Regions from separate parts of the Homo sapiens genome. Here regions 2, 3, 4, 5 and 6 are each linked to region 1. Evidence: promoter capture Hi-C in 16 types of primary human blood cells and fetal thymus (Javierre and others, 2016). All regions are on one chromosome and are shown on one strand. Each heading gives the region's core, a stretch centred on a gene start or on the middle of the fragment in contact. The rest is flanking DNA. Distances are from core to core; before and after follow the strand shown.

Region 1 (2,916 bases), core at 291-2,790:
AGCAGACAACCCAATTTAAAAATGGGCAAAAGATGTAAACACCTCTCGCAAATGAAATTAACGCAGATAGCAAATAAGTATATGAAAAGATGAACACTGTATATCATGAGATATTCCAAAGTTGAAACAAGATACCACTACGCAGCTATCAGAATGGATAGCAATCCAAAGTAACCGACAGCCCCGCATGCTGGCGAGCACGCAGAGCAACAAGGAGAGCCTTCACTTCTGGTGGGAGTCAAATGGCACAGTCACTCTGGAAGATGGCTTGGCAGCTTCTTAGAAAACTAGTCTTACTACATGAGTAATCGCTCTTCCAGGTATTACCCAAATGATATAAAAATGTATTTCCAAAAAGAAATCTGCATGTACACGATTACAGCAGCTTTATTCATAATTGCCAAAAACTTGAAGCAACCAAGATGCCCTTCAATTGCTGAATGAATTGAAGTACATCCATGCAATGAGATATTACTCAGTGATTAAAAAGAAATGAGTTACCAAGCCACGAAGACATAAGTGAATCTTACATAGATATTTCCAAGTATTCAAGGCGTCTGAAAAGGCAATATATTGTATGATTCTAATTATATGACATTCCAGAAAAGGCAACTATGGAAATGTTAATGAGATCTGTGGTTGTCAGGGGTTGGAGAAAAAGAAGGGTTTAATAGGTAAAGCAGAGGGGAATTTTTTAAGGCAGTGAAGCTACTCTGTACGAACCTATAATGGTGGAGACATGCTATTACACACGTGTCAAAACCTATAGAACCTTATAGCACAAAGAAAAAATCCATAGAACCTTATAGCACAAAGAATGCGCTCAATGTATGCACATTTTAAAAAACGCATTAGGTAGAAGGATCCCAAGATGTAAGGCAGAATGTGACAAAGCAATCCAACTGTGTTACAAATGTATGAAACGATTTCACTGAAGAAGGTGGGGGCAAAATGCTAAGAAATGAGAGTAGTCAGTCAGAGTAAAGGCAAAAGGAAGCGGACACAAGCACTGAACTCCGTGTCTGCTCAACATGGCATCACCCAAGCACCCAGCAGGGCCCGACCTTTAAACGGCTCTTGACAGGGCTGCTACGTGAATTATCTAATGACAAGCGCGTGTGCCCCCGGCCTGCCACCTGCACACGGGCCTCCCGCATCAGGGCAGCCTCGGGGCCCTGATCACCTCCGCGCTCCAGCGTTTTGCTTAAAGCTGAGATAAAATGGCCTGGAGAAGCTCGTGGCCCCCTGAGGTCTGTCCACGACCAAAGACCAAACAATTCCGGAGGCAGGAGGGGTCCCCCAAACCCACCCGGAGAGCGACCTGGGAGCCGCCGCCAGAGGCCGGGGGAGATGTGGAACTGCTCCCCACCCCGCCACCCCGCCACCCTGCCACCCCGCCACCCTGCCACCCCGCCGCCCGCTCACCACGCGCTGGGCGCCCGCCGCCACGACCCGGGCGGACGCGGACGTCGCTGCCAGCTTCAGGAGCCGCAAGGCCATGGCTACCCGGTCAGCTCAGGATCAAGGACCCAAGGGGACGCGGTCGCGACGGGGCCCTCTCTCGCGGCCGGCGCGCTGCCGTGACGTCACGGCCGGGGTGCCCGCGGCGCCTGTCGGGAACCTTCCAGGGGGCGGGGCCGCGCCGAGGCCCTCGGGGGCTTCCGCGGAGACAGCCAGTGCGCTGCCAGGGTCCTGCGGGTTGGGGCGAGGGCCGAGAGGTGGGAGTTGGAGGTGAACGTGGGGGCAGCATGCTGGCTGCCCGGCCCCTGCCTGGGTTCTGAGTTGCTGCGGTGTCGCGGGAGCTGAGGCCGCCCAGGGCGTGGAGCGACTTCTGCGTCTCGTCCCAGGGTCCTGTGCTCCCCGCAGAATCCCCCAGGCGCGGTGTGGACGTCAAAGCGACCTCCTAGAGAACATTCCTAGCTCTCAGAACGTTCTCGCTGGGGAGGGAAAGTGGAAAAAGAGGGGGCGAGGAGCGGAGGGACGGGGTGGGACCCCTGTCGCGGGGCGCCTGTCAGGGAGAGGGACCTGGCAAGGCCGGCCTGGGTCGCCTCCGGAGCTGAAGGCTAAGTGGTCTCATCCAGGGGACCTGCTGTGAACACATTGAATAGCATAGAAAACAAAAGCACACGCTCCAAGTCCATCTCTTTTTTTTTTTTTTTTTTTTTTTTTTTTTTTTTTTTTTTTTGAGGCAGAGTCCCGCTCTGTCGCCCAGGCTGGAGTGCGGTGGCGCCATCGCGCTCACTGCAAGCTCCGCCTCCCTGGTTCACGCCATTCTCCTGCCTCAGCCTCCCGAGTAGCTGGGACTACAGGCGCCCGCCGCCACACCCGGCTAATTTTTTGTATTTTTAGTAGAGACGGGGTTTCACCATGTTAGCCAGGATGGTCTCGATCTCCTGACCTCGTGATCCACCCGCCTCGGCCTCCCAAAGTGCTAGGATTACAGGCGTGAGCCACCGCGCCGGCAAGTCCATCTCTTAAAATGTGCTCCCGTCAGGACCTGGGCTCTGGGCTCCACGAAGGAGCCTTGCATGTGAGGTTTCCTTCCAAGTATGCCTGCTGTTGGGAAGGGTTTTTATAATCTTTTGTGTTCCCCAGGCTTTTTGTTCTTAACCCCTTAAATATTCTTTAACTTTGTTTTCAACTTTTCAGAAATGATCATGCGATTGTAAAACAGTGGGAATGCAGCTGTGTAAACTACGGCCGGTTCTATGGATGTTTCTATAATTGAAGAATTGCTTTTTGTCAAAAATACGGATTCCCGGTCCCCAACGCAGGAGGGTCTGGTTTTTAGATCCTGGAGGGCACCTGAAATCCATTTAACAAGCTTTAGGGTTCATGTCTGCTGTTTTTTGCCTTGTTTCCTTTGCATTTTTTTTTTTTTTTTTTTTTTGTGCCTTCCAATGGATACAGTACATT
Region 2 (2,761 bases), core at 87-2,586, 760 kb before region 1:
CCAAGTCCAGAACTCCACCCCAGCAGCTGCCGTGTGCTGAGATGGAGCGTGGTCACAGCCAGCCAGGCTCTGCACAGACGGAAGCAAACCGTGGCAGGCCTGGGCTCTGGGAGGTGGGCAGGCCCTGGGGACCCTGTTAGGTGCATCCATGGGGCATCCTAGGACATGACAAAACACGCTTCAACAGTTGCCAAAAATGGGCATCTTACTAGCCTGCCAGCCAGCATGTAGACTTCCCAGGCTGGGAGCCTCAGGTCCACAGAGGAGGAGCCTTCTGGTTCCCCCACAACCCACGGGCTAGAGACAAGGCTGGACAAGGGGTCTCCCTGCTGAAGAAAAGCAGAAGTCAGCGTCCTAAGAGGGCCTGGTGAGATGGTGGCCCAGGCCCACGGGGAGGAAGGGGCAGCAGTGGGCTGGTCCACTCTTAGAAGGCGAGGTTTCCAACTCAAACCACCCCAGAACCTTCCCTCGCTCCTTAACAGTGGCAGGAGCCCGGCAGGGACACCCCCCACCCGGCCCAGCCAGGAGGTTCTGCTGCCAGCCTGCCCAGGGCAACTGAGAGTCTCGAAAAGCCTATGTCGGAGGGTCCTCGGGTTGCCTGGCGCCATGAAAGCACTGCCTTCGTGAGCCCCCGGCCCCTACAGGTTGGCCTCTTCCCTGAAGGCCCCAGACACAGAGGCCCTAGGTGGGAATCCAGCAGGGTGGCATCTGCCCCCTTGTCGCTCCAAGGGAAAGCCCTGAGGGACCCTCCCAACCACGCCAGCGCCGCCTGCAGTGACGCCGGGCCACGCTCACCCCAAGGCCCAAGAAGGAGCCACGGTCCACTGAGACCCACGACAAGGTATCCACGTGGCTTTTTATAAGCTAGTATTTCCTCCTGTGGTGTCTCCTTGGGGGAATCCTAAATTTCTGTGATGTGAGATAAAATTTTAGTGGGATTACAGAAACCTTGGCTTAGTATCAGAGACCACAATAACACACTTTAGAAACAGAGTAGCAATTTGGTTCTCTGCGGAATCGTAAGTGGAAGGGATGTATTTTCCTTGAGATTTTAAAAATAATTAGGAGGAAGAGATAAAAGAGAAGCTTTTGTGAAAGCAGAGATAGAAATTTAATTAGAAACAGACGAGGATCTTCTCAAATCACCCTTGCCTTGTTTGCCCAGGTCCGAGATGAGGTAATGCCATTAGCAGGCAAGACTGATCTCTACTCTGAGGGGGCCAGAGCCTGGCTCTGACACTCTTGGCCAAATGTCCCCATCCTCAGCCTGGCTCCATTTTCTGGGCAAGAGTGTGGGACCAACGAGACCTGGGCTAGTGCAGGGGTGGGCAGGCACCACAAGCGGGACACCCCCAAGGGTGCACACGGCTGAAGGCGCAACGGGCACAGGGCATTCTGTGGGCCACGCTCGCAGCCCAAGAACACAGACGAGGAGGCCTGTGCTCAGGCACTAAGGACACGGAGGGACTGTTCTGGGATCCACCCAGCAGCTCTTGGAAAAGCTGGTGCCCTGGTGAGCAGGAGAGCGTGAGGCTCTAAGGAGTGGATCCCTCACTGGAAGGTCACGGCACCACTGAGACAGCCTGGAAGCTTCTGTGCTTCACGAAAGATCTACGCGTGAAGCCCCCGGGAAGCCAAGCCCCAGGAAGGGCCCATTATGCCGATGAAGACACGAGAGAATGAAGGATGTGGACACTGCCCCAAACACTCGGGACCAAGAGAAGATCCCAGAACCTGCTGCGGCGGTGACACAGGCACATACACACCACTGCAATTACTGCTAGAAAATATGAAAAACACTACCCTCCTTCATGTCTGCTGTGTCGGTGCCCTAGCCTCTGCCCCAGAGGTCAGAATGGCTCCAAGGGCACGGGGCCACTGTGCAACTGCACATCAGCCATCCCGAAGCCCGCCCTGAGGACCCCCGCCCAGCCCAGCCCCCTACACATCAGCTGTCTCGAAGCCCACCCTGAGGACCCCCGCCCATCCCAGCCCCTTGCACATCAGCCGCCCCGAAGCCCGCCCAGTCCCCTGCCTGGAGATCACCCCTTCTCTTCACAACAGGCAGCAGGTGAACAGCTTCCCCCTCGGAGCTGCCCCATGGGCCTCACTGCACAGGTGTGGAGGCGTCCACGTCTACACCACCAGGAACCCCCAGGCAGGGCAGCTCTTGGCACTGATGCCCAACGGGTATTGCTAGGCCCGCACGGAGCTGCTGTCAAGGACAGGGGCAAGGGCAGGGAAGTGAGGCTCTACACACAGCAGCATCTTCATGCCTTGCCTGAGAGTATGTTCTAGAAGGACACGGGAGAGAAGAATAAACAGGGTCAGGACAGTCAGGAAAGGCCTCCAAGTTGGAGGTGTTAACCACATCTGAAGGGGTTCCTGAGAGACACGGGGGCACCGACGGGGGGACAGAGCCCAGTGCTGCTGTCCTGGGCATGCAGAGCAAGCCGCCTGCCTGGCCCCAGCTGTCCGACTCGGCTGAGCCTCGCCTCCTGCTGCTCGATCTAAGCTGGCTGCCCAGTGACGCCACTCTGCCCCTTCTCTGCAGAGGGGAAGCTCCGTGAAGGCAGAGCCCTGTCTGGCCACTGCTCCCCTCAGTCTGAAAGGAAGGGTACGTGGGCACCTCTGAGAGCCAGTGGCTTACTCAGGGCACACAGGACCTTTGGGGTGGGGGCCATCCTCGAGCGGGGGCTCAATGACTGAAAACAAAAGGGGGAAGACACAGCCCTGGAAAGGAGGGGGCTGACTTTCCCAG
Region 3 (2,700 bases), core at 183-2,682, 540 kb after region 1:
GCTGTCTTCCCTGTCAGCCTTGGATGCGAGGCTGATCCACACCTCTGAGTGACTGTGTAAGCCTAGGGGTTCCTGGTGAGTTTGGGATGGGTGCCCCAAGATCGTGGCCGTGTCCCTAAAGAGGGCACGTGGGGACCTGAGGTCCTACGGGAAAACTGAAATGATGCCTCAGTGCTCTGTCCCGCAAACGTGAACGCACACTCTCCCTCTCAGCCTTCCTTCCCGCCCCACGGAAGGAGGGTAGACACAGAGGGTTACACAACGAGGAGACTGAGTCCAGACACAGGAAACACTACTCAGGGCTGACGCTGAGTCGAGTGCGGTACCCGAGTCCAGCCCTGCACGGCCACACCTCAATGGAGCAGAAGAGAGAGGTGTCCTGGGTTCCTGGATAGTTCCCCAGCCCCAGAAGCCCCTTGTCCCTAGGAATTTGAATTCTTACTTGATGACAACAGCGACATCATGGTGGCCCCTGTTATTCCACAGCCTCAAAATTTAACCGCTGTGAGCTCACTAGCAGCTTCTGCCAGGCGAGCACCCCTTCCCTCGGGGCTCAGGCTCCTGGACAGGCTCAGCCTTGGGCAGCCTTCGCCAGGTCCACAGAGAATGGCGTTGGGAAGGGTGGACCTGGCGGATGGGGTGGGGACAGGCGGGCCAGACCCTCCTTCGTACCCCAGCACAGGGCTCCCAAATGAGAGGTCCCCAGCACTGCCCAGAGGAACTTCTGCGATTGTGGAAATGATTCCTGCCTGCTTTGTCCATTAGCCACTCCTCCCAGGAAGACACACACACTCACTCACTCCACCTGCCACGAAGGAACTGAACTTCTAACTGTATTTAATTCGCATCTAAATGGCCACACGTGGTTGGTGGCTGCTGTAGTTGACAGCGCTGCGTGAAGGCTCCGGCGCTTCTCGCACCGCAGGGCCCACAGCACAGACCACACCTGTAGACTTGGAGGAGTGGCAGGGGTGCCAGGAGAATCCTGCCCTGCCCGTAGCCCCGGATGAAAGGATGACATTGAGTTCGCGACGCTGCGCTCCTCGGGAACACGAACCACACCTGGAAGCAGCCTGCCCCTGTGGCCCCAAGGTTCCCGGGTCCCTTCAGCGGCTGCCCCAGGGGCCTGGCCGGCAGTGTCTGGGAGGGAGCAGCGATCCCGCCTCCTGGGATCTCCCGGGCGCCGCCCGGGGAGGAAGCGAGGGGCTGGGGGTGCTGCTCACCCGCTCCGCGCGCCTCGGCTCCCAACACAGCGCCCCGGCCCCGCGCCGCGCTCGATTCCCCGGCTCCCCGCGCCCCTGGCTCCTGGCCCTCCCCGCCCGGCGCCCCGGCCCCGCGCCCCGGCCCCGCGCACAGCGCCCCCGGCGGCGGCCGAGCGGAGCCCGAGCGGGGCGGCGCACGGCGCGGGGCCGGGCCGGGCGGCTCCCGGCGCGACTTCCTGTTGTGCCCGCGCCCCGCCGCCGCCGCCGCCCGGCGCCCCTCGCCCGCGGCCCGGCGCGGCCGCCGCCCATGGATTTCACCTAGTGCCGGCGGCCATGGCCGCGCAGTGCTGCTGCCGCCAGGCGCCCGGCGCCGAGGCCGCGCCCGTCCGCCCGCCGCCCGAGCCGCCGCCCGCCCTGGACGTGGCCTCGGCCTCCAGCGCGCAGCTCTTCCGCCTCCGCCACCTGCAGCTGGGCCTGGAGCTGCGGCCCGAGGCGCGCGAGTTGGCCGGCTGCCTGGTGCTCGAGCTGTGCGCGCTGCGGCCCGCGCCCCGCGCGCTCGTGCTCGACGCGCACCCGGCTCTGCGCCTGCACTCAGCCGCCTTCCGTCGCGCCCCCGCCGCCGCCGCCGAGACGCCCTGCGCCTTCGCCTTCTCCGCCCCCGGGCCGGGGCCCGCGCCGCCGCCCCCGCTGCCCGCCTTCCCCGAGGCGCCCGGCTCCGAGCCCGCCTGCTGTCCGCTGGCCTTCAGGGTGGACCCGTTCACCGACTACGGCTCCTCGCTCACCGTCACGCTGCCGCCCGAGCTGCAGGCGCACCAGCCCTTCCAGGTCATCCTGCGGTACACCTCGACCGACGCCCCCGCCGTGAGTCCGGGGCGGGCGCCGGGGCTGCGGGCCGGTCCGCAGGGCGCTGCTAGCGGCCTCTCGCCGCACGGCCAGGCTGAGGGACGCGAATCTGCGCCCTACAGGTGCCCCCCTCCCCCCACCCCGGTGATTCCCAGCTGTTGCCTGTGAGCCCTTAGGACCCTCGGATAGAAGCCGGAGTCCTGCGGGGACACGGGACAGCATGTCACTCCGGGAAGCCTCCCGTTCAGGTGTCTGGTCCCTGCCTGGGGACATGAGCAGCTTCTGTCACCCACCGAGGTGTACATCTGCAGGATCCTGGCACCAAGGGTTGGGCTGGAGTGTCAGCTGCGGAAGGGCCTCCATGTGACCAGTGCGTGCAGATGAGTCCAAGCCAGAGGCAGAGGAAAGGGCCATGGAGATTGTGATGCTCGGTTTGGGGCTTCCTTGGCCAGCACTGGTGGAGTGTTGAGACCAGTGGGCCCCGCGACCCCAACATAGACACACATAGGCTCTGCAGGGCTTGCACACTGGGTACCCACCACTCCAGAGACTCTGCAAGAAAGGCCAGGTGGCTGAGGCTGGCGCTGTGGCTGCAGCACCCCCTCCACCTCCACCAGTGGGGATGTGTACAGGATGGAGCAGGGCCTTTCCTGCC
Region 4 (2,855 bases), core at 111-2,610, 630 kb before region 1:
AAACTTTTTTGGGGGGGACAGCCCAGGGTCTCGCTGTGTCACTCAGGCTGAAGTGCAGTGGCAAAATCACACCTCACTGCAACCTTGACTTTCCAGGCTCACGTGATTCTCCTGCCACAGCCTCCCAAGTAATGGGGACTACAGGCACACGACGTCATGCCTGATTTTTTTTTTTTTTTTGTAGAGATGAGGGTCTCACTATGTTGCCCAGGCTGGTCTTGAACTCCTGGGCTCAAGTGATCCTCTCACCTTGGCCTCCCAAAGTTCTGGGATTACAGGCATAAGGTACCTCGCCCAGCCCTATTATATTTTATATAATAATACATATGGGTCTCTCCAGAGAGCAAATGATAATAAATAACAGCCAACATTTATATCATGCTTACTACATGCCAGGCCCTATTCAAGGAAATTTCCATACATTAACTTAAACTTTGCAAAAACCTTACAAAATAGAAATTATTATTATGACCAGCAACAGGTATCATCAAACTCGCCAATATGATAGGCATAAAGGGAATCTCCTTCACACTGAATTGATTAGTAATGCTAACCTTTCATCACTGGCACAATGATTCAATGTTCATACGTTCTGCTCATCTTGCAATGGTGATCTCATGCTCTCCTTATTGGTCTGTAAAAGCTCTTTATATATTGACTGTTAAGCTTACACAGGCATAATGTGGTATGTATTTTCTCTCTCGTCTCTTAGCCCGGCTGACGGAGTCTTTTGCCAAAGAGATTTTTTAAAAAACTCTTATCCTATTAAATCTGTCAAGATTTTCTTTAAGGTTTCTGGGTTGGTATTGAAAGAGTAGATTAACTTGGTCCTCAAATGCTTTCTTCCAATAAAATCTTCCAAGGTAATCAACAGACCGAACAACAAACACTAAAAGCTGCTCCGGCTGAAGTGGACTTGGAGCATTAGCTCCCTTCCGTCACCCCCACCTGCCTCCAGGCGTCCTGGGGACTTTGCAGGAGAAGAACATGATGTCTTCTAGTTCTGCAGTCCCACACGTGACATAAGACAGCATGAGAAAGCCAGAAGTACTGCCCAGACCTATGAAACGCGCCTGTAACAGCGCCAAGAACAGTCAACACAGCACTAGAAAGTCTAACGACACTGAACTAGAAAGGTATTCCAAATCGTCCTCTTCTCTAAGAGGCTGTGTTCGCCCAAGCACCTCGACAAGCTGAACTTCAGCTTCAAGGTCACCACCAGCCTAGAAGCAGAGGCACGGAGAGGAACTGGCCTTTGGGACTGGAGATGCAGGGGGTGGCACATGGTCCATTTCATTCTACCCCCAGTTCCTCCAGAGGTAGAGCCCACCTGCAGGACTGTGCTGACACCTACATGGTGAGTGCATGAAACAGCACGAGCCCCAAGCAGGTGCTCATCTGGCGTCAGCTACGGGAGCACGTGACAGCTGCTCGTGGCATCATCTCCTTGCTCCAGGATACATCCTCATCCCCCGACAGTGATACAGGAAGTCACGGTGGGGGCAATCTATGCAGGACCCCGACCTTCCTTCCAGGAAGTGAGTAGGAGGTGTGTCAGCAAGGCCACAGCAAGGGGACATGTAGGACCCTGACCCTCCTTCTAGGAAGTGAGTAGGAGGTTTGTCAGTGAGGCTGCAGCAAGGGGACATGGCCATTTAATGCTGCAGGCACCATGGCCCTCATGCCACCCCAAAACAGGTCCCACTCTTCCCACGCACAGAAGCCCAAGAGAAGAAAACTGACCGTATGAAGAGAACTTACTGACCTTAGTGACACTTGTTCCCACAGAAACGCTTATGAATGAGTTAAGGTCTGTTCAAAGGTAGCATCACTTTTGACATGGCACCCCTCATCTGACCTGAACCAGAAGGTGCAGTACCCGCCTCTAACGTCAAGGCCAAAAACCCAGAGCCCACCACACGGCAGGGCATATGCTGACCACCTGAAATCAAAACAAACACTCCCTCCAAATCCATCCTTTCCGACTCCTTACCCCAGGACAGACTGGGGGCTGCCAACAACAGGGCAGGGGCTCAGTCTCGGTTCCACAGCCCCAAGCTTAGGTGGAGACTGGGCCCCTTCGCCCTTCAGTTCCCCCATCCCCAGCTAGTCATCAATTCTGAGCCTCGGAGGAAAGCCCGGCCACAGCCTGTCGCCCCGCTGCCTCTCAGCAACGGCAGTTCTCTCGGCCTCTGCGGCTCCTTCGCGCCCTACATCAGGTATTAATATATTACTCATGGCAGCTTCTGAGCTATGAAAGCCCAGCCGTTTTCAATAGAGAATGGTATGGATGAATTCTACAGGAGTGATGAAATGTTTCTTCTGCTCCGGCAATTAAGACAGCATAAAGTCGCCTTTCCTTTGGTGCCACCCCCAACATTAAAGGATTGGAATTCAAAGCCATTCATGCTGCATTGAAACCTCACAATGAAGCTGGAGAATGGAAGTCGATTACTGGGCATAAATATGCAGTAGTTAAAAGGAAAGAGTTATAACAAAATTAAACTGCAGCAACCCCACAATGTGTGGAAACTTCCAGCACTAGAGTCCTCCTGGTAAACATCCATAGGGCATTCTTCTCAACGAGGTCTCTGGCCACAGAGTCCAGATGGGCTGCCTGAGCCGCACGTGGCCAGCGTGCCAGGTTGTCCTGTCCATCTTGCTACAGCAACAGCCCCCAAGGCCTCCGAGAATATGGCATTTGGGGATTTTTATTTTGCATGGCTAGGAAGCTGCTGAACACAGAACATTCTCTCTGGTGCAGGGCTCCGAGGCCACATCTGTCCTTCGTCCCTAGGCCTTCCAGGCCCATATGCAGTCCAGTCATCTTCCCTCCACCCCGTCCCCTTAGCCCA
Region 5 (2,816 bases), core at 248-2,747, 800 kb before region 1:
AATAAGCTGGAATTAATGAGCATATTTAGAATCCAGCACCCAATTACTAGAGAATTCAAAATCTTCTCACACATATATTAAAGATTCATAAAAATTGACCACAAAGCAAGTCTCAGTAAAATTCAACAGCTGGGTAATTTCTAACCATAATGGAGTAAATTAGAAATGAATAACAAAAAAGATGACTTGGAAAATTCAGACTTTCGGGAAACAAAAAACACTTCTAAATATTTCATTTTTTCAAATAAAAAAGGAACCAAAAAGCAAATTTCAAAATAACTCTCTTGAGAAACACCAAGACTTTATGAAGTGTTAATGTAATATGCTTTACAAATTAAATAATACAAATTAGAACTTATCCAAAGCAGCCCCATTTGAACCCCAAGGGAAGCACAGCACAGAACCCTGAATGCCTCCATCCGAAAGGAAGAAGGGCTAAAAATTAACAAGTGAAATGTTCAACCTAAAAGAACAAGCATATCCGAATAAATGCAGAGAAAGGAGAACAGCTATTAAAACAGGAATTAATAAAACAGAGAACACACCCACAAGAGCAGATCCACGAAGGCAGAAGTCGGTCTGCGGGAGAGTAAAGCATAGCTGGACTCCCACCACCTGCAGGGTGCCCCCACCCCAGGGGGGGATGAGAAACACCTGGATGGAGGGGTGGAGCCTGGCTGGGCTCAAGAGCAGGAGAGGGAAGCCAGGAAGGCGGGGAAGGCAGGTCGGCAGGGGAGGGCAGGCCCGCCCAGGAAGGCCCACGCAGGGCTGGGTGCTGTAGAACTGAAAGAAGTGCCAGCCCCTTCCTCAGGCGCCTGACTAAACCGCCTTCAATTTCTTCCCCTCGCCCGTGGCCACGTACTGCTACCCAAGGGACACCTCCAGTCCTCCCTCACCTGGTCAGACACCTGGCTCTGATGGCCCCTCGGAGCCCCTCATTGGAAACACAGAGGGCCTGAGTTTGGTTCTGCATCACGTGTGACAGTGTGTGCATCTTGCTGTGAGGTCCAGAAATGGAAACCTTCCTTAAAAGATGGGCAGGTTCCTCTGGTAGGGGACATGGTGTTGGTACGGCGAAAACATGACATTAGGGTCAAATGTGGCTGCTGAGAAGGAACTCCCTTTCAGCTGCACCGCGACACCCTAACACAGACAAGGGTCGGCAAAGAGCCATCTCCCTCGTCCTGGCGGCACAGGCTTCCAGATGCCACTGAGGGGCTCCGCAGGCCCTCTGGATACATTTTACAGTCCACAGCCTTAAAGCACACAAAGCTGGTAATAAAAGAAAAAAGATAAAAAGCCCTTTAACCAGAAATGATGTCATGATGCAAAAATTCATTCCTGGATAATACTTTTGGCCACCAGTGACACTCCGAATACACAAACCAAACCAAATTCTCAGTGGAAAAAAAAAATCCTTTCTTCCAACCAATCATCACTTAGAACTGTGGAATCCTCCCTGAGAGATACTCAGTGAGATTTCTCTGTATTCTGTATCAACACGGTTGAGGGGCACTGCTGGGACTGCCACATAGCTTTCTCTCTCCCTCTAAAGTAGAGAAACAACCAGTCACCAGCTCCACCCCATCCAGATTTGCTGTGGATGTGTGGACGGTTTTAGAAGCACCCAGAGGATATTTCTCAGACAGCACCCCCAATTCTCCACGACGCCCCAACCAATAACCGTCTGCTTTCTTACCACCCATGTTCCTTGCTAAGGGCAGACAGTAAGCTCTTCAGAAATCTTTGGGTCGACAGCAACAACAACAATGTAACATGTAATGGGGGGGGTGATAAATGTAGATAACCCAAACAATCTAATGTCCACCCAGGATGGAGAAACTTTCTATCTTTCTGCCTCAGGCACTGCGGACAGGGAAAGAACCAGTTGGAAAGTGAGGCCGGCAGGCTCACGGGTGGGGCTGGCAGGCAGCAGTGTCCTGGGCCGCGTGGGGAGGCACGGTCCCACCTGCCAGCCACAGGGTGGCATTTCAGAGCCACAGGGCATTTCTGGTCAAAAATAACAGAGTGAACACAATCACGTTGTCAGGATCCCTCCAAGATTCTGCTGAAACAGTGTGTGGATTGTTTAGAAAGACACACCAACACAACACACACACAGGAGATGAGAGAGCAGCCACAAAATGCTGGAAGTCAGAAAGGATCTGGGTGAATAAGGTATCAGAGACAGCAAAGCTGACCCATCAGCCAGGGTGGGCCAAGGGAGGGGCAGACCAGTCTCGGTCACACAGCCCTCCGGGGCACAGGGGCTGGTGGGACCAGGACTGGAGGTGAAGGAGAATGAAATATCTGCTCAGGGAATGCAGGGCCCCAACCACCGCTTACCCCACGTGGCTGGCAGAGCCCAGGGACTACTACCCTCTGGAGAGGGAGATGGAACAGCACTGAAAACTGCGGACCAGTGGAAGCTGGCCAGCTACACGTGAGGTGTCCTGGTCTTCCTGCCCCAGCATGGGGGCAGGGCAGGCAGCATTGGGCCCTCCCAGTGAGGTCACAGGGGCTAAGCAGCCTGCTGGACACCATGCCAAGTGGGACCGGGCAGCCCCCAGCGGCCAGCACCCTGCATGCCCCTGCAGGTCCCGCCAGCCTCAGTGCCCTCTGCTACAGATGGCAGATACCGTGCTCACCAGAAAGGCCAGGAAGACTGTCATCACAGAAGGCAGAGCCTGGACAGACAGACAAGCACCTTGGGGAAATGCAGACAGAGAGAAGGGAAGACAGGCCCTCCAAAGACAAGCGGAAGGAGCGGGAGGCAGCCCTGGAGTTCCAGGACAGGAGGGCATGCCTCGGGTGCG
Region 6 (2,700 bases), core at 199-2,698, 780 kb before region 1:
CAGTGCCCTCCACCAAGGGTTTCACATCACAATACCGACACACAAGAAAGGAGGTTTCTTGAGCCAATAAAGAAAGTACATGAAAGCCCCACGCACAGGCTCCTGAACTGGGAGGGGAAGGGAGTGGGGAGAAAGTGTGGTTTCCACCCTTGGGACCTGCCTGGGAACACCTAGTCCTGCCCAGGTTGGGGTGAAAGGGTGTCTCTTGAAGGTTTCATTTGTCTTTCCCAGATGACCAATGACACTGACCATCTTCTTACATGTTTATTGGCTTTTTCACTGGCTGTTTTGGATTCATGTCTTTTTGACCTGTTTTTTGCCCCCAGTTGGGTTGTCTTTTTCTTATTGATTCAGAGGAATTCTTTACAAATTCTGAACATTAATCCTCTGTCAATTAAATGCTGCAGATATCCTCTCAAAGGTCCTATTTCTCAATCTTTCAAAGCTTCTGCTTTTATGTCAGGTTCAAGAAACTCTTCTCTTCCTGGAGGCTGCAGAGATATTTTAACATATTTTTACCCTGAAACTTTGCAGTGTTCCCTTTTATATGTAAGTCTCTCATCTACTGGCACTGATGTTTGTATACGCTATGAGACAGGGGTTTGGGGTATGTTTTCCTATGATAACAGCCAAATGTCCCCTCAGTGTTATTAAGAGGTCTTATCTTTCACCATGGATGGGCAACATTAGTTCCCTTATAAGCCAAATCTCAATCCTGTTGGCCAACTTGTTTTTGGTTTTGCCAATAATCACACTGTCTTAACCACCATAACTGTACAATAACTCTTAATATTGGCAAGGCAAAAAACCCTACTTTTTTCTTCCAGATCATCTTGGGCAAAATTGGCCTTTTACTCCGCCACATAAATTTTAAAATTAACTTGACAAGTTCCACCAAAAGAAAAGAAAAGAGAAAAAGAAAGAAAGAGAAGGAAGGAAGGAAGGAAGGAAGGAGAAAAAAAGAAAGAAAGAAAGAAGGAGAAAGAGAAAGAAAGAAAGAAAGAGAAAGAAAGAAAAGAGAAAGAAAGAGAGAGAGAGAAAGAGGGAGAGAAAGAGAGAGGACGAGAGAGGAAGGAGGGGAAGGGAGGGAGGGAGGGAGGGAGGGAGGGAAACGAACAGTGCCTGGGATTGCACTGCATCTGTCATTTTGAGAGAAGATAATCTTTACAGTACTGCATCTTTCAATCCATGAACATGGGCTATTACCTCCTTTCATTTCTCTCAGAAATGTTTCAGAATTTTCAGTGTTGCGGTCTTGAACATCTTTAGATTTATTACTAGGTATTTGATATTTGATTTCCATTATCAATTTCTGTTTGCTTGCATATGGAAACACAATTAATTTTTACTTATTGGTTCTGTATCGTAGAATATTAATTTCAATCATTTTTCTGTAGTTATCGTGTATTTTCTACATATAGAATCAGGTCACGTACAAATAATGACAGTTGTTTCCACCTTCCAGACCTCACACCTTTTCTTCTTCTTTATTCTGCTGGCTCAGTCCTACAGTACAGTAACTAAAGAGAAATGGTGATAAAAGACACTTTGGTCTTGTTTCTGATCTTACGAAGGATATTTCAATGTTTTACTGGAAAGTGTATTGCTTGCTGCAGGTGTCCAACAGGTAACTATCAGATTAAGGAAGTTCCCATCTACTCCTAGTTTGCCAAGACATATTTTTAAATCACATGTTTGCTTAACTGTATTAAACTTTTCTGCATCAATTCAGCTTATTAAATAATTTCCCCTTCCATCTGATAACGTAGTAAACTTTTTTTTCTCATGTCAAACTAACTTTGCATTCCTGTGACAAACCAGCGTGGTCAGGCCCAGGGGGTTTTTGGGAACAGGAAGGCAGCAAGAGCTCCACACAAGCTACACCTAAACTCTTTTCCACGCTTGATTCTGAAGACTTGGAGACCTCAGTCCCACATTTCACCTTAGCACCTCACTTCAATATTTCGTTATGAGCATAAAATGAGAATTGGATAAATTAACATTCCTTTTTTTTTTTTTTTGAGACATTGTCTCGCTCTGTTGCCCAGGCTGGACTGCAGTGGCTGGATCTCAGCTCACTGCAAGCTCCGCCTCCCAGGTTCACGCCATTCTCCTGCCTCAGCCTCCCGAATAGGTGAGACTACAGGCACCCGCCACCAAGCCCAGCTAGTATTTTGTATTTTTAGTAGAGACGGGGTTTCACCATGTTAGCCAGGATGGTCTCGATCTCCTGACCTTGTGATCCGCCTGCCTCGGCCTCCCAAAGTGCTGGGATTACAGGCGTGAGCCACCGCTCCCGGCTGGATAAATTAACATTCTAAAGTGTGTTTGGTGGGGGGTTGCTGACATAGACAAAAACAATGAAACCGCTGTGACTCAAGAGTAGTATAGGTCACACCTCACTGTGCACACCCCACTGTGCTAACAGAGCTGCTTTTCAGACACGGGAACGGAAGCTTAGGGCTACTGGGAAACAGTAACGACACAGTCTTCATTGCAGCCAATCTCCCCATCCTTTCATATTTTTCAAACAAAGGTGTTGTTTTAGAACAGCTGTGAGTTTATAGAAAAATTAAAGCTAGTAGAGACTTATCCTATACTCTGCACCCTCCATGCCCTACAACTAACATCTTCCATTCCTGTACTCTGCACCCTCCATGCCCTACAACTAACACCTTCCATCAGGATGCTGTGCTTAGG

What was found. Contacts are between HindIII fragments. The CHiCAGO score rates a contact against its expected background, and 5 or more counts as called.
Region 2: a fragment that was not itself captured here is called in contact with the fragment with the promoter of NDUFA10 in region 1 in 2 of 17 cell types (naive CD4 T cells and total B cells); the score reaches 6.8 in naive CD4 T cells.
Region 3: the fragment with the promoter of RNPEPL1 here is called in contact with the fragment with the promoter of NDUFA10 in region 1 in 5 of 17 cell types (activated CD4 T cells, total B cells, endothelial precursors and 2 more); the score reaches 7.0 in activated CD4 T cells.
Region 4: a contact is called between a fragment that was not itself captured here and the fragment with the promoter of NDUFA10 in region 1, in 5 of 17 cell types (fetal thymus, total B cells, megakaryocytes and 2 more). The highest score is 8.2, in fetal thymus.
Region 5: a contact is called between a fragment that was not itself captured here and the fragment with the promoter of NDUFA10 in region 1, in 4 of 17 cell types (neutrophils, total B cells, fetal thymus and 1 more). The highest score is 9.3, in neutrophils.
Region 6: a fragment that was not itself captured here is called in contact with the fragment with the promoter of NDUFA10 in region 1 in 1 of 17 cell types (neutrophils); the score reaches 8.0 in neutrophils.

The regions. Positions count from the first base shown.
Region 1 is chr2:240,023,802-240,026,717 of GRCh38, forward strand. NDUFA10 (NADH:ubiquinone oxidoreductase subunit A10) reads right to left here and starts at 1,541. Exons shown (of 10, transcript NM_004544.4): 1 at 1,426-1,541. The coding sequence starts at 1,500. RefSeq lists a silencer at 1,468-1,727 and an enhancer at 1,536-2,365. The HindIII fragment of the contact is 3,872 bases long and covers 1-2,822 here.
Region 2 is chr2:239,261,344-239,264,104 of GRCh38, forward strand. The region is part of intron 2 of HDAC4 (histone deacetylase 4); the gene reads right to left. Among named protein-coding and RNA genes, the nearest start is that of MIR4269, 43 kb to the right of the region's middle. RefSeq lists enhancers at 710-1,209, 2,760-2,761. The HindIII fragment of the contact is 504 bases long and covers 1,085-1,588 here.
Region 3 is chr2:240,567,052-240,569,751 of GRCh38, forward strand. It overlaps RNPEPL1 (arginyl aminopeptidase like 1), which reads left to right and starts at 1,433. Exons shown (of 11, transcript NM_018226.6): 1 at 1,433-2,063. The coding sequence starts at 1,536. RefSeq lists silencers at 1,150-1,409, 1,440-1,499, 1,640-1,829, 2,070-2,119 and enhancers at 1,880-2,518, 2,390-2,569, 2,519-2,700. The HindIII fragment of the contact is 8,327 bases long and covers 1-2,700 here.
Region 4 is chr2:239,395,976-239,398,830 of GRCh38, forward strand. All of the region lies in intron 1 of HDAC4 (histone deacetylase 4), which reads right to left. Among named protein-coding and RNA genes, the nearest start is that of HDAC4, 3.6 kb to the right of the region's middle. The HindIII fragment of the contact is 1,392 bases long and covers 665-2,056 here.
Region 5 is chr2:239,224,883-239,227,698 of GRCh38, forward strand. All of the region lies in intron 3 of HDAC4 (histone deacetylase 4), which reads right to left. Among named protein-coding and RNA genes, the nearest start is that of HDAC4-AS2, 33 kb to the left of the region's middle. RefSeq lists an enhancer at 236-1,130. The HindIII fragment of the contact is 8,852 bases long and covers 1-2,816 here.
Region 6 is chr2:239,241,150-239,243,849 of GRCh38, forward strand. The region is part of intron 2 of HDAC4 (histone deacetylase 4); the gene reads right to left. Among named protein-coding and RNA genes, the nearest start is that of HDAC4-AS2, 49 kb to the left of the region's middle. The HindIII fragment of the contact is 2,011 bases long and covers 444-2,454 here.